4 separate regions of the Homo sapiens genome follow, and all the other regions are linked to region 1. The links are contacts of gene promoters, found by promoter capture Hi-C in blood cells and fetal thymus (Javierre and others, 2016). All regions are on one chromosome and are shown on one strand. Each heading gives the region's core, a stretch centred on a gene start or on the middle of the fragment in contact. The rest is flanking DNA. Distances are from core to core; before and after follow the strand shown. Region 1 holds the start of SIDT2 (SID1 transmembrane family member 2). Region 2 has its middle 45 kb from the start of BUD13. Region 3 has its middle 8.5 kb from the start of LNC-RHL1. Region 4 overlaps SIK3 (SIK family kinase 3).

Region 1 (2,938 bases), core at 184-2,683:
AATCCATTATTTTTTATTTTTTGGTACTACTCTATATTTTTAGAATTAAAGGAAAATGATATACAATATGTGTTATTTTTAAAATTGTAATTCAAAGATAACTACTGCTAAATTTTATTTTTAAAATTTGCCCTGCTTTCTGGAGACATTGCTAAATGTTTAGTACAATTTTTTTCTATTTTTCTATGCATGTCTATATGCATTTGGAATATATACGGTTTTATTTACTTATTTATTTTTGAGACAGAGTCTTGCTCTGTTGCAGCCCAGGCTGGAGTGCAGGAGCATGATCTCAGCTCACTGCAACCTCCGCCTGGTAGAGTTAAGCGATTCTCCTGCTTCAGCCTCCCCAGTAGCTGGGATTACAGGCACGCGTCACCACGCCCCACTAATTTTGTATTTTTATAGTAGAGATGGGGTTCACCATGTTGGCCATGGCTGGTCTCGAACTCCTGACCTCAAGTGATCTACCTGTCTTGGCCTCCCAAAGTGTTGGGATTACACGTGTGAGCCACGGCACCTGGCTCTATATACTGTTTATTTAGTGTCATATCCTGAATTCTCTGCTTACGTGTCCTGTGAAGTCTTAAGCATCATTTTTGATGCCTTCATGATAGTGCATTTAACCAATCCCTCATTATGGATATCCAAGTCATTTCCTTTTTGCTTTATATTATAAATATCACAGTGATAAGCGTAGCTGCCCAGGTATTTTTATCTGTGCTTCCTATTTCCTTAGGATAGAGTCCAGAAGTGGAATTACTGGATCAAAGGGTATAAAGCTCTCTAAGTTTCTTGAAACAGTGCCAAAATATTTTGTAGAAAAGTTTTCACCAATTTACACTGAAGGTCAGTATCTTTCAATGAGTTTTGTAACTGTCTCTGAGAGAAGAGGGGAAACAGCCCGGCAAGCTTGGAAAGCTCGGAAGGCCGTCCCTGCAGTTGTGTGGCCCCTCTAGAGGGAGGTGGGAAAGGCATGGGGATTCCTCCTGCAGTGCTGCCTCCGTTTCCCCTCCGCCGGTAGGGCCACCGTCCTGTTTCCTAATCCTTCGAGTTTTTCATTTTTTAAGATCCCCGGAGAAAAAGTGGCCCAGGGTTGGACGATGTTAGTTGTAAAGGTGGTGGTGGGGGTGGGGGAATCCTTATGTTTGAGCAAATGTAAGAGTTGTTCAGCAAGAACCCAACACTTGGAGATTGTTAACAGAAACATCTGCCTATTCCAACGTGAGTTTCAGAGATGGTGAAAATCACGGGAGAGAGTTGGGTAGGAGTTGGAGAAGGCATTGCAAGCTTTCCCCTTCAGCTAGACAGCTGCAGCCCCTTTAAGGGCAAATGCGGGACCTGGTCCTTTAAATCTGTGTCAGTTTCCCCTGACGTCAGCGGGCGGGCCAGCAGCCCTGCTGTTTATCGCCCAGCGGCGCAGCTCACTTTTCAGTGTTCGTGCGTCGGGACGGCGCGTCCGCCCGCCCTTAAAGGGCCCGCACCTCGGAAAACTCGCAGCCCAGCACGGCGTCGGGTAGCTACCACCTATCACGCCCCTCACTCTGCGACTCGCCTTCCTCCGCGGCCAGCCCCCGCCGCCGGCTCTTCCTCCCTCCCCTTTCCCGGCGTCTCCAGGCTCCCGGCAACCAGCCGCCCTCCTTCTCACGGCCCTGGCCCGGGGCTCCAGGGTCTCAGGTCGTACTCAGCCCCTCGCGAGCTGGGACCCCTTCCCGTAGCCAGCATCCCCTCCCTCCCCGCCCCCTCCCGGCCGCCCCCTCCCCTGCGGGGACCCTGGGAGCCTCTTCGGGGCTCTTGGGAGGGGACATTTCCTAATCTCAGGCCGGGGTTAAAGTTCTGGTCCTGGTGAGATGCTGGAAGCTGCGGCCGCAGCCGCAACCCGTCCCGGAGGTGTCCTGTCTCCTGTCGCCGCCGCCGCCGCCACCACCGCTGCCACTGCCGCCCTGCCGGGGCCATGTTCGCTCTGGGCTTGCCCTTCTTGGTGCTCTTGGTGGCCTCGGTCGAGAGCCATCTGGGGGTTCTGGGGCCCAAGAACGTCTCGCAGAAAGACGCCGAGTTTGAGCGCACCTACGTGGACGAGGTCAACAGCGAGCTGGTCAACATCTACACCTTCAACCATACTGTGACCCGCAACAGGGTGAGGGCTGGGGGCTTAGGGGCCAGAGGCGAGTGGGGAAGCCGACGAGGGCTAGGCGATTCTGCCGCCCCGCTACCCTTTTGGGAGGCCCCAGGAACGAGCTGTCCTGCTAGGTTCCCAGTTCCCAGAACCACACTGGAGCCTCTTGACCAGTCCTCCTTCCTTTGCCACCAATGTTTCTCTGAAGCTCCAGCTGGGCAGTTTTTGAAGTTGGCTCATTCCCATCTTCTCTTCCGCCCCCATTCTTCCATCAGTTGTGGTCTGAGCACACATGGCTTGCTCTCTACCCTAAACCCCAGAATCTGACAGCTCTGTGGGGTCTCGGTGGGAGAGGAAACAGGCTTATTACTGGGCTTGCCCAGAAAACCTCAGGGGAATGAGACTGGCCCAGAACTGAAAAGCTCTGTGCAGGCAAGTTACATCTCAGACTCCCCAGGGAGATGAATGCAGGGCTTCCCAGCCCTCTTCCTGCCTGGGAGAGCCAGCTGGCCTTGTAAATTGAGGGTGACAGAGGTTTTATAAGGCCAACTGCAAGTTGGGTGGGAAGAGAAGGGGAATTTGTCCACTGTGAAAAATCCACTTCACCCTGACTTCTCTTTGGTTTCTTCACCAGCTGTGAGTCCCTGAGTTGAAATAGACACAGCTAGTGTGGGAAGTCTAGACCCCAGGCAGAGCTGAGATTGGGAGAATTCTTGCAACCTGGCTGTGTGGTCTCGTGCCCGGGTCTCTTGCTCTCTCTCCATGACTGCCGTTTACTGAGAAGCAATGGAGTTGAGAATGGGGAATCTGATTTTTTTTCAG
Region 2 (2,938 bases), core at 227-2,726, 450 kb before region 1:
GCACTACTGGGAGCTCACTGGGAATTACTGGAGTGTTCCTGGGATTCTGTGGGAAGTAGCTATGAATGCCAGTAGCCTGATAGGGATTCCATCAAAGAGATATTGGGGCAATACTGATAATGCTGAGTTGCTGGAGACATATTAGAAAGTGACCAGGAGCTCTCTGGAGAGCAAAAGCACATGGACTTTCCTAGGGCACTGTGAGAACTGCAGAGGGCATAATGGAGACACTGGGGACCACTAGGGACTCCTGGTGGGGTCTTCATGGGTCCCACCAAGTGCTGCACTCTGGGCTGTTTACTCTTAATGAGGGGCACAGGTGGGTGGGGGTGCAGCCCTCCCGGGGGAGCCAGAGGCAGGCCCACACTGCCCTGGAAGAAAGAGCCACTGCCCTTCAACTGTTCGGCAACCACAAATGTGTGCTTCCCAGGGGTGGCGGCAGCCTCAGAGGAATGGGAAGCTGGTTTAGAAAGTCGCTCTGAGGAGGGAAGCAGTTCCACCTTACTGCTAGGAGCCCTGCCTGGCATCAGTCCCCTCAAACTCAGACCCCAGGCCTTATCTCCACCCCCGAGGTGAGGGGACAGCCTGAAGTAGTGCGATTCAGGGGTCTCAGCAACAACACACCGCCCTCCGAGTAGCCTCAGAGCGTGGGCACTGGGGAGGGGTCTAGAAAGGATTTACAGCCAGTATCTGCCTGTTAGGACTCAGCAGAGAAGAGCCTTCTTCCCCATGGCACAGAATAGAGGTAGCAACAACCCAAGTCCAATGCCATAGGGTCAAATGTGGGTTCTTCCAACCTGCCCAGAGCCTGTGGGAATGAATGTAGACACAGCTGAATAACTGAGAAGTGCATCTCAGAAAGTCCGCAAGCAGGCGCCCGCTAACCAAAATGTTGAAAGGTAGAAGGTCAGGGTCAAGCTTCAGGATAGGGTCAAGCCTCCTTTCAAAAGATCTAGGTATGGTCAGAGTGAGAAATAAAACAGGCAAGGCAGATGAAGCGCCAAATTCAGCATGTTCAATATCAAATATTCAATAGCAGATATTCAATTCCCACTCCGTCCCAGGCAACTAAACCCAGGGTGGTCATTCCCAGGATTCCCAAAGCAACACCATCATCATCTCTCCTTCTTCCCTAGATCCCTCTTCTCAAAGAAGAGCATTGCTCCATGCCAGAAACCCAGGTGTCACCCAAGACGCCCCCTCGGTCACCCTCACAGTCACTGAGATGCTGCATCCTGCCTTTTCTGACTCATGACAAAGCTCTCTCCTCTTCCCGTGACTCTTGAGCCACACCTGATGGCTGCAGTTCATCGTCTTTCATACAGACAGCAGCAGCTGCCTCTGGGTGGGGACCCTGCCTCCAGCCTTGCCCATCTCCACACTGCTGCCAAAACGATCTTTCTAAAACACAGTGTTAGTCCTGCCTGCCACCCCAACAAAGTCCTTTCTTACCTGCTCAGAGCCCACAAAATCGTATTGAAATTCCAGGGAACAAAAGGCCTCCAACTCTACCACTCCCCAGTGCAACCTGTCCTCCTGCCATCCCAAATCCCTTGCCAGTCTCCACACTTCTATTCTCCTCCCTCCTCCGGGCCTCTGCGCGTGCTGTTCCTTTATCTGCCTCCCAACAGGGCTCGCGTTCCTTGAGACCATCTGCAGCTTTGCATCCCCAGCACTTGACGCGTAGAAGTGAAGTCTTGATGGAATAAATGAACTGATGAAGATGGGAAAGTGAAAGATTCCATGAGATTGTAGCATTTTCCCAGTTATAACAATGAGGAAACAGAGAGGTGATATAGCTTGTCCAAGGTAAACACAGAATCAGTACCATACCCCATCACCCTTTGCTGCCTCAGCAGAGCCCCAGAGAAACCAAAACAAAAGAAAAACAGAATAAGAACCCAGGAGGGGTTCAGGGTAGCATAGGGCAGGAGTCAGGAGCGGGCAAAGAGAGGAGATGGAGAAGGGAGTTTGTTGAAGGTTGGCAGCTATGGCTAAACAGTTCACAGTGAAGGGAGAGCCTTCAGAGTCCAGGAAGCTTTAGCCAGAAGTCAGAGGGGTGGACTTGCAGTCCCAATAGGAAAGAACTTTCCTCCTCCAGGAATCAGAAAGGGACTAGAGAAACCCAGGAACCAGAGTGAAGACATGAGGCTGGCAGAGAGGGGGTGGGAAGAGGGGCACTAGTGGCTGTGGTGACAAGGCTGTGTGCAGGTTATTAACCCTGGGATAACTGCGTGAGTCCTGAAACAGAAATAAACCTTTCTCACCTCCAAACCCTCACCAGGAAAAAAAAATTAATTTTACACCACAGTCTCAGGAAGAGAAATTTAGGGACACACAGGCTGGGCCTTTGGCCTGTGAAAACCTCAGCTTCTTAGCCCCGTTAGGAAAATCTGGGCTCTTAGAGAGAAGGTAAAGACTTGGATAATGCTATTCTCTCTATTTCTCACCTCCAACCCTCTTTTCTGAGTCCTCTACATCTTTCAAAGGCCAGATTCCCACCTTGGCCCTGTCCAGAAGCCTTCCCAACTGCCAGAATTTCCAGCATCCACTGTTCCTCTGAAGAGCAAAAGCTCTTCACCAGGCTCTTCACCTCCCAGCTTATTCTGTGGTCTTCTCTGGACAAGGAAGACCATCTCCCTAAGGTCCATGGTGACTGGGGGTGGAGCAGGGAGATGGATTTCCCATCATCAGCCACCTTTCCTTGAGCCTAGACCCAGTCCCATCCCCTCCTGCTCAGAGTTCAGGGCTCGGGGACTGGCAGGGGGAAGCTGTACTGTGGCTGGCTGGTATGTTTTGTCAAGAACATATCAGCTGCTTCCCTATTTGGGCAGGAGGAATCCAGGAGGGCTGCATGCCCTGGAAAGCACCTGGTGCTGCTGGGCCCAAAGAACTCGGCCTCCTCTGTCCCCTGCCTTGCAGCAGCCATGCCCACCCA
Region 3 (2,938 bases), core at 168-2,667, 370 kb before region 1:
AGTGTCAACATTCTTCTGGAAGAGTGGGTGGCAGTGGGACTAGAAATATGGCAGTTGGTCGAGAGTCTGTTTGAGAAGCAGCTGTTCTCTTCAACTCTACTTGGCTGGGTACCCCCAAAGCAGCAGAAAACCAGATGCTTATTCTCTCTGAAAAGGGTAAAAGAGTGGGACTCCGGCCTGGAGAAAACTAGGTATTGTTGGGGGCCAGGGTTTTTGTGCTAAGAAAAATTAAGGAAAACTTTATACATTAAATTTTGAGGCTGGGCACAGTGGCTCATGCCTGTAATCCCAACACTTTGAGAAGGCAAGGCAGGAGGATCGCTTGAGCCCAGGAGTTCGATACCAGCCTGGGCAATGTAGCGAGACCCAGTCTCTGCAAAGAATACAAAAATTAGCCAGGTATGGTGGCACCTGTGGTCCTAGCTACTCAGGAGGCTGAGGCAGAAGGATTACTTGAGCCCACGAGTTAGAGACCGCAGTGAGCCATGATCATGCTACTGCTCTCTAGCCTGGGCGACAGAATGAGACCCCATCTCAAAAATAAATTTTTTTAAAAGACTCCTCAGTTCACCATCTTTCCCCATATTGAAAATGGAACAACATTCTCCCTGAGAAATTTGGCTGGCCCAAGGAAATAGGCCTAAAGAAACTGACTTTTGGGGGTTCCCTGCTCTCCAGATGGTCCCTCCTAAATTGAACCATGGACTCAGGATTTCACATCAGCTTCTTCTAATTTATGCAGCTTTCTTCTAATTTACTGTGGGGTTTTTTCGGTGTTTTTTGTTTTGTTTTGTTTTTTGAGACAGGGTCTTGCTCTGTCATCCAGCTGGAGTGCAGTGGTGTGATCATAGCTCACTGCAGCCTCAAACTCCTGGGCTCAAGTGATCCTCCCACCTCAGCCTCCTAAGTAGCTGGGGCTACAGGCATGACCACCACACCTGGCTAACTTTTTAATTTTTTGTAGAGGTGGGGGTCTTGACATGTTGCTCAGGCTGGTCTTGAAATCCTGGCCTCAAGCGATCCCCCTGCCTCAGCCTCCCAAAGTGCTGGGATTTCAAGCATGTGCCACTGTGCCTGGCTAAGAATACTTAAAGGTGAAGTGAGAAGTTCACATGATGTCATATCAGGAGGTACACAATGGCTACTTGTCCCACTAATAGCAATCCTTAGTTTTTTCACTTCGTGAGGTGGTCACTAGCAGACCTCTTGGTTGGAAAGATAGGTTATTTCCCTTTGTAATTAACAAGTAACAGAATTGGGATACTTTGGCATCTTAAAATACCTTGGCAACCTGATGAACATAGCATACATTCAAGATTTTTGCCTGAATTAATTATTACATTAGAAGAGTTGCAGAATGAGAATGTTCTAATTCTACTATTTCTTTTATATATTTCAGCTGATGTTATTCTATGAAGAAAAGCTCCCTCATCAGTGAAGATGAACTGCACTTCTTTCTAAAGAGGCAATGTCAGACGGGCACGGTGGCCTATAATCCTAGCACTTTGGGAGGCCGAGGAGGGTGGATCACCTGAGGTCAGGAGTTCGAGACCAACCTGGCCAACATGGTAAAACCCTGTCTCTACTTAAAATACAAAAATTAGCCGGGCATGGTGGCACATGCCTGTAATCCTAGCTACATGGGAGGCTGAGGCAGAAGAATCGCTTGAACCTGAGAGGCAGAGGTTGCAGTGAGCTAAGATTGTACCACTGCACTCCAGGCTGGGTGACAGAGTGAGACTCTGTCTCAAAAAAAAACAAAACAAAACGAAACAAAAAAACAGTTGACAGTAGTTGTTTTTGTAGAGTGAAAAATAGAGGTGGGGGTTGAGATACTGCTGCTATTTTAAACTAACTTGTAGATCTGTTTGACTCTTTTTTAAAAAACAATTTTTTGGAGAGATGAAGCCTTGCTATGTAGCCCGGGCTGCTCTCAAACCCCTGGCCTCAAGTGATCCCCCTGTCTCGACCTCCCAAAGTGCTGGGGTTACAGACATAAGTCACCACACCTGGCTCTGTTTGACTCTTTATGTGCAGTTTGAACTTTTTAACTGAATTTTTTAAAAGGTGTGAAATTAGTCTTTAAAGGAACACAAAACCAACAGAGAAGCAAGCAGGAAGATACAAGAAGCAAAGAAATATCATAGTAAAATGAAAATACAAAATAATATGACATAAATAAAACAGTAATCACTATCAAATTAAATAGATTAAGTGAGCCCACAAGGCATTGTCTCTGGGACTAGTCCGCTGGGTCGAAGTCCTGCCACTTATTGGTTCTGTGACCTTTGGCAAATTAACTTCTCTGTGATTCCATTTCTTTCTTTTGTTTTCTTTCTTTCGTTTTTTTTTTTGAGACAGAGTCTCACTCTGTCACTCAGGCTGGGTGCAGTGGTGCAATCACCAATCACAACTTACTGCAGCCTCCACCTCCTGGGCCCACGCGATCCTCTCACCTCAGTCTCCTGAGTCCCTGGGAACACAGACATGTGCCACCCTGCCAAGCTAATTTTTAAATTTTTTGTAGCGATTGGGTCTCACTATATTGCCTAGGCTGGTCTCAGACTCCTGAGCTCAAGTGATCCTCCCGCCTTGGCCTCCCAAAGTGCTGGGATTACAGGCATGAGCCACTGCACCCAGCCTCAAACTCTGTAAAAGGGGAATAATGATAATACTTGCCTCATAGGGCTTGTGGGAAATAATGCTTTATTACTGTAGGTTAAAAAGCACACAAACATGCTTGACACAGTAGGTGCTACATCAGTTTACTATTGTTGTTGTTTTCAGATTGGATTTTATAAAAACTCTACTTATTTGCAATTTATAAGAGGCATACCTAAAATATAATGTCAGAGAAAGGTTAAAAAGTGGAGCCAGGGAAGGAATTTAAGAAGACATACCAGACCAATAGTAATCAAAAGAAAGCAGGTATGCAATG
Region 4 (2,938 bases), core at 164-2,663, 290 kb before region 1:
TATCTCCCGTAATACAGCAATAGCAGCTGGCCTCACAGGCTGAAAAGCAGCCAGCACTCGCCTCCATCAGAAGACTATGCTCCAGGTCTACTGAGATACAACTGTGCCCAGAAACACGAGGCGTAAGCAGAAAAAGGACTCTGGGACAGACTCTAAACTTCCTTCACCTGACACTTTCTGGTACTTGAAGGTTGTCTAAGCTAAGAAAAGCCTAAATAACCGATGAATTCATTTTCTGCTATGCCTTATCCTTTTGAAGTATTCTCTAATGGGCCTTGGGATTTAGGCCTATGACATTCAGCAATGCCAAGCACATGTATATTACCAAGGGCCAGAGAGATCATATTGGTAATATAGCAAGTATCTACTGACTTCCTACCCTGGTTGTTTCTCATTCTCTGTACTAATCATACAAAAACTTGTATTGCTACTTAGGGAATTATTTAACTGGGATTAAAGAGCGACTACGTTTAGGATAATCCTGTTGGCTTTCTCTGAGTCTTGAAGCTTTCAGGTTAACTAACATCATATTACAAATAATAGTTCTAAGCAGTTAGACTGTTAGTTTATTTCTAAGCACTAATAGACAGTGTGGCTGACAGCATGCTTAGCTGTTTTCTAGGACCCCCTATCTGAAGCCGGCTCCGGGAAGGGTTCAGTAAGAATCTCTTGCCATGGTGTGAGGTGATGGGGGTGGAGGATAGAAAAGATCCAAGTTGCTCACAGGAAACACTGTGGACATTGGAAAAGTAAAGGAAGTGGTTTATCTTGCTCTTTTTGCAACAGTATGGTGTAGTAAAACAAACACTAAATTTGAATACTGACCTAGTTACTTATTACCTGTGTGGCTTTGGCAAGTTAACTCATTTCTCTAAACTTCAGCTTCCAAAACTTCATCAGCAAGATGATAAAATATGTGCTATTACCTATTCTAAAATATAGTTATGTAGCTCAAATTAGATTAAGTAAAAGAAAATAATTTAGGTTGCGTATGCTGGCTTCTGCCCATAATCCCAGCACTCTGGGAGGCCAAGGTGGGAGGATTGCTTGAGGCCAAGAGTTCAAGACCAGACTGGGCAATGTAGTGAGACTCATCTCTACAAAAAATCTTTTAAAAAATTAGCTTGGAATGGTGGCACAGGCCTATAGTCCTAGCTACTTTGGAGCCTGAGGTAGGAGGGTTGTTTGAACCCAGGAGTTTGAGGCTACAGTGAGCTATGGTCATACCACTAGGCTCTAGCTTAGGTGACAGAGCAAGACCCTGTCGCCAAAAATATAAAAACTGAAAAATTGAAATATTTTTAAAAAATATATTGGCTGGGTGCAGTGGCTCACACCTGTAATCCCAAAACTTTGGGAGGCCGTGGTGGGCGGACTGCTTGAGTCCAGGAGTTCAAGACCAGCCTGGGCAACATAATAAGATCCCATCTCTACAAAAAAATACAAAAATTAGGTGGGCGTGGTGGCGTGCGCCTGTAGACCAAGCTACTCAGGAGGCTGAGGTGGGAGGATGGCTTGGGCCCAGGAGGCGGAGGCTGCAGTGAGCCAAGATCACGCCACTGCACTCCAGCCTGGGCGACAGAGATCCTGTCTCAAAAAATAAACCTATTAAAAAAGAAATTATTTTATAAACTCAAAAGCCCTAAACAAATGTAATTATTTGATATTACTACTGATATTATGATTTGGATAAGACTACTCTCCAGAGGGGCTTTTGGAGTCAGTGTTCGAACAACCCTATGCATTAATTCATTCAACAAATATTTACTGAGTGCCTACTAGAACTCAGGCACCGTCCAAAGCCCTGGGAACATAACAGTAAACAAAAACCAAATGCTTATTATGGTCAAGTGGTGATAGGAGGTGAGGAGACAATAAAGTAAGTGCTATGAAGAAAAAGCAGAATTACAGAAAGAGAATGATGGGGGTAGCCAGGACAGGCCTCTCTGAGGGGACCTATGACTCCTCTCTGAGGGGAATGTATGTGTTTGGCAAGTCTGAGAAACAGCAAGGAAGGCCCTGTGACTGGAGCTCAGAACCGGAGGTGAACAGTAACAGGAAATGAGACCAAAGAAGGGGCAATGACAGCTGTGCCTTGTAGGCCATAGTAATAATGACTCCTTGAATTTTATTCTGAATGTAAACAAATGCCACTGGGGATGGGGTGGTTCTGATTCAGATTTCATATTTACTAAGTCCTACTACACACCAGATCCTGTGGTAGGTTATTGACAGTTGTGAAAAAGACATGTTTCGTCTGTACTTTCACTAAGTTCAGTCTGGTGTGGAAGACATACAATGAAAGAAGTAGTTACAATATAAAGCTTGGTAAGCACCACGATAAGAGAAAGTTTAGAGACATGAAGAGTGAATAGAAATTATCTAGATTCTTATTTCTATCCAATCTAATTTTTTTTATTCTGAATTCTAGAATACAGGAGTGGGTGGAGTGGGGTGGGATAGGGAAGATGTATTCTCGGCAGTGGGAAATGCTCCAGAAAACAGAACTTGTTCAGGGAACGAGAAGAAAATTAGGGTGACTGGTGGGAGAGTGGGAGCTGGGGCTGAAGAGCTAGGCAGGAGTCAGGTTATAAAGGTATTTCTATGTCATTGTTTCTGAAATAGCAGATAGGAGATCAATTTAGTAAGTCGAAATCAGCATTTTTTAAAATGGAATAGAATAAAATATATTGAAATGCACTGTACATAGTAAGGTAAGTTTTGCTTTTTTAAAAAAATTGTTTGCTGGCTGGGCGCAGTGGCTCATGGAGGTCAAGGAGGGAGGATCGCTTAAGGTTAGGAATTCAAGACCAGCTTGGTCAACAGAGAGAGAGTCCATCTCTATAAAAAAATGTTTAAAAATTAGACGGGCATGATGGTGCTTGGTGCTTGCCTGTAGTCCCAGCTACTTGGGAGGCTGAGGTGGGAGGACTGCCTG

What was found. The method cuts DNA at HindIII sites, captures the fragments that hold promoters and counts their contacts. A CHiCAGO score of 5 or more calls a contact.
Region 2: a contact is called between a fragment that was not itself captured here and the fragment with the promoter of SIDT2 in region 1, in 1 of 17 cell types (neutrophils). The highest score is 5.3, in neutrophils.
Region 3: a fragment that was not itself captured here is called in contact with the fragment with the promoter of SIDT2 in region 1 in 1 of 17 cell types (neutrophils); the score reaches 5.6 in neutrophils.
Region 4: a contact is called between a fragment that was not itself captured here and the fragment with the promoter of SIDT2 in region 1, in 3 of 17 cell types (total CD8 T cells, naive B cells and naive CD8 T cells). The highest score is 5.8, in total CD8 T cells.

The regions. Positions count from the first base shown.
Region 1 is chr11:117,177,310-117,180,247 of GRCh38, forward strand. SIDT2 (SID1 transmembrane family member 2) reads left to right here and starts at 1,434. Exons shown (of 26, transcript NM_001040455.2): 1 at 1,434-2,137. The coding sequence starts at 1,955. It also overlaps a transcript of PAFAH1B2 not described here. RefSeq lists a silencer at 1,533-1,742 and an enhancer at 2,723-2,792. The HindIII fragment of the contact is 6,932 bases long and covers 1,289-2,938 here.
Region 2 is chr11:116,726,877-116,729,814 of GRCh38, forward strand. No RefSeq gene overlaps it. Among named protein-coding and RNA genes, the nearest start is that of BUD13, 45 kb to the right of the region's middle. The HindIII fragment of the contact is 1,120 bases long and covers 917-2,036 here.
Region 3 is chr11:116,804,210-116,807,147 of GRCh38, forward strand. No RefSeq gene overlaps it. Among named protein-coding and RNA genes, the nearest start is that of LNC-RHL1, 8.5 kb to the right of the region's middle. The HindIII fragment of the contact is 3,075 bases long and covers 1-2,938 here.
Region 4 is chr11:116,888,299-116,891,236 of GRCh38, forward strand. The region is part of intron 6 of SIK3 (SIK family kinase 3); the gene reads right to left. Among named protein-coding and RNA genes, the nearest start is that of APOA1, 52 kb to the left of the region's middle. RefSeq lists an enhancer at 2,270-2,329. The HindIII fragment of the contact is 1,817 bases long and covers 506-2,322 here.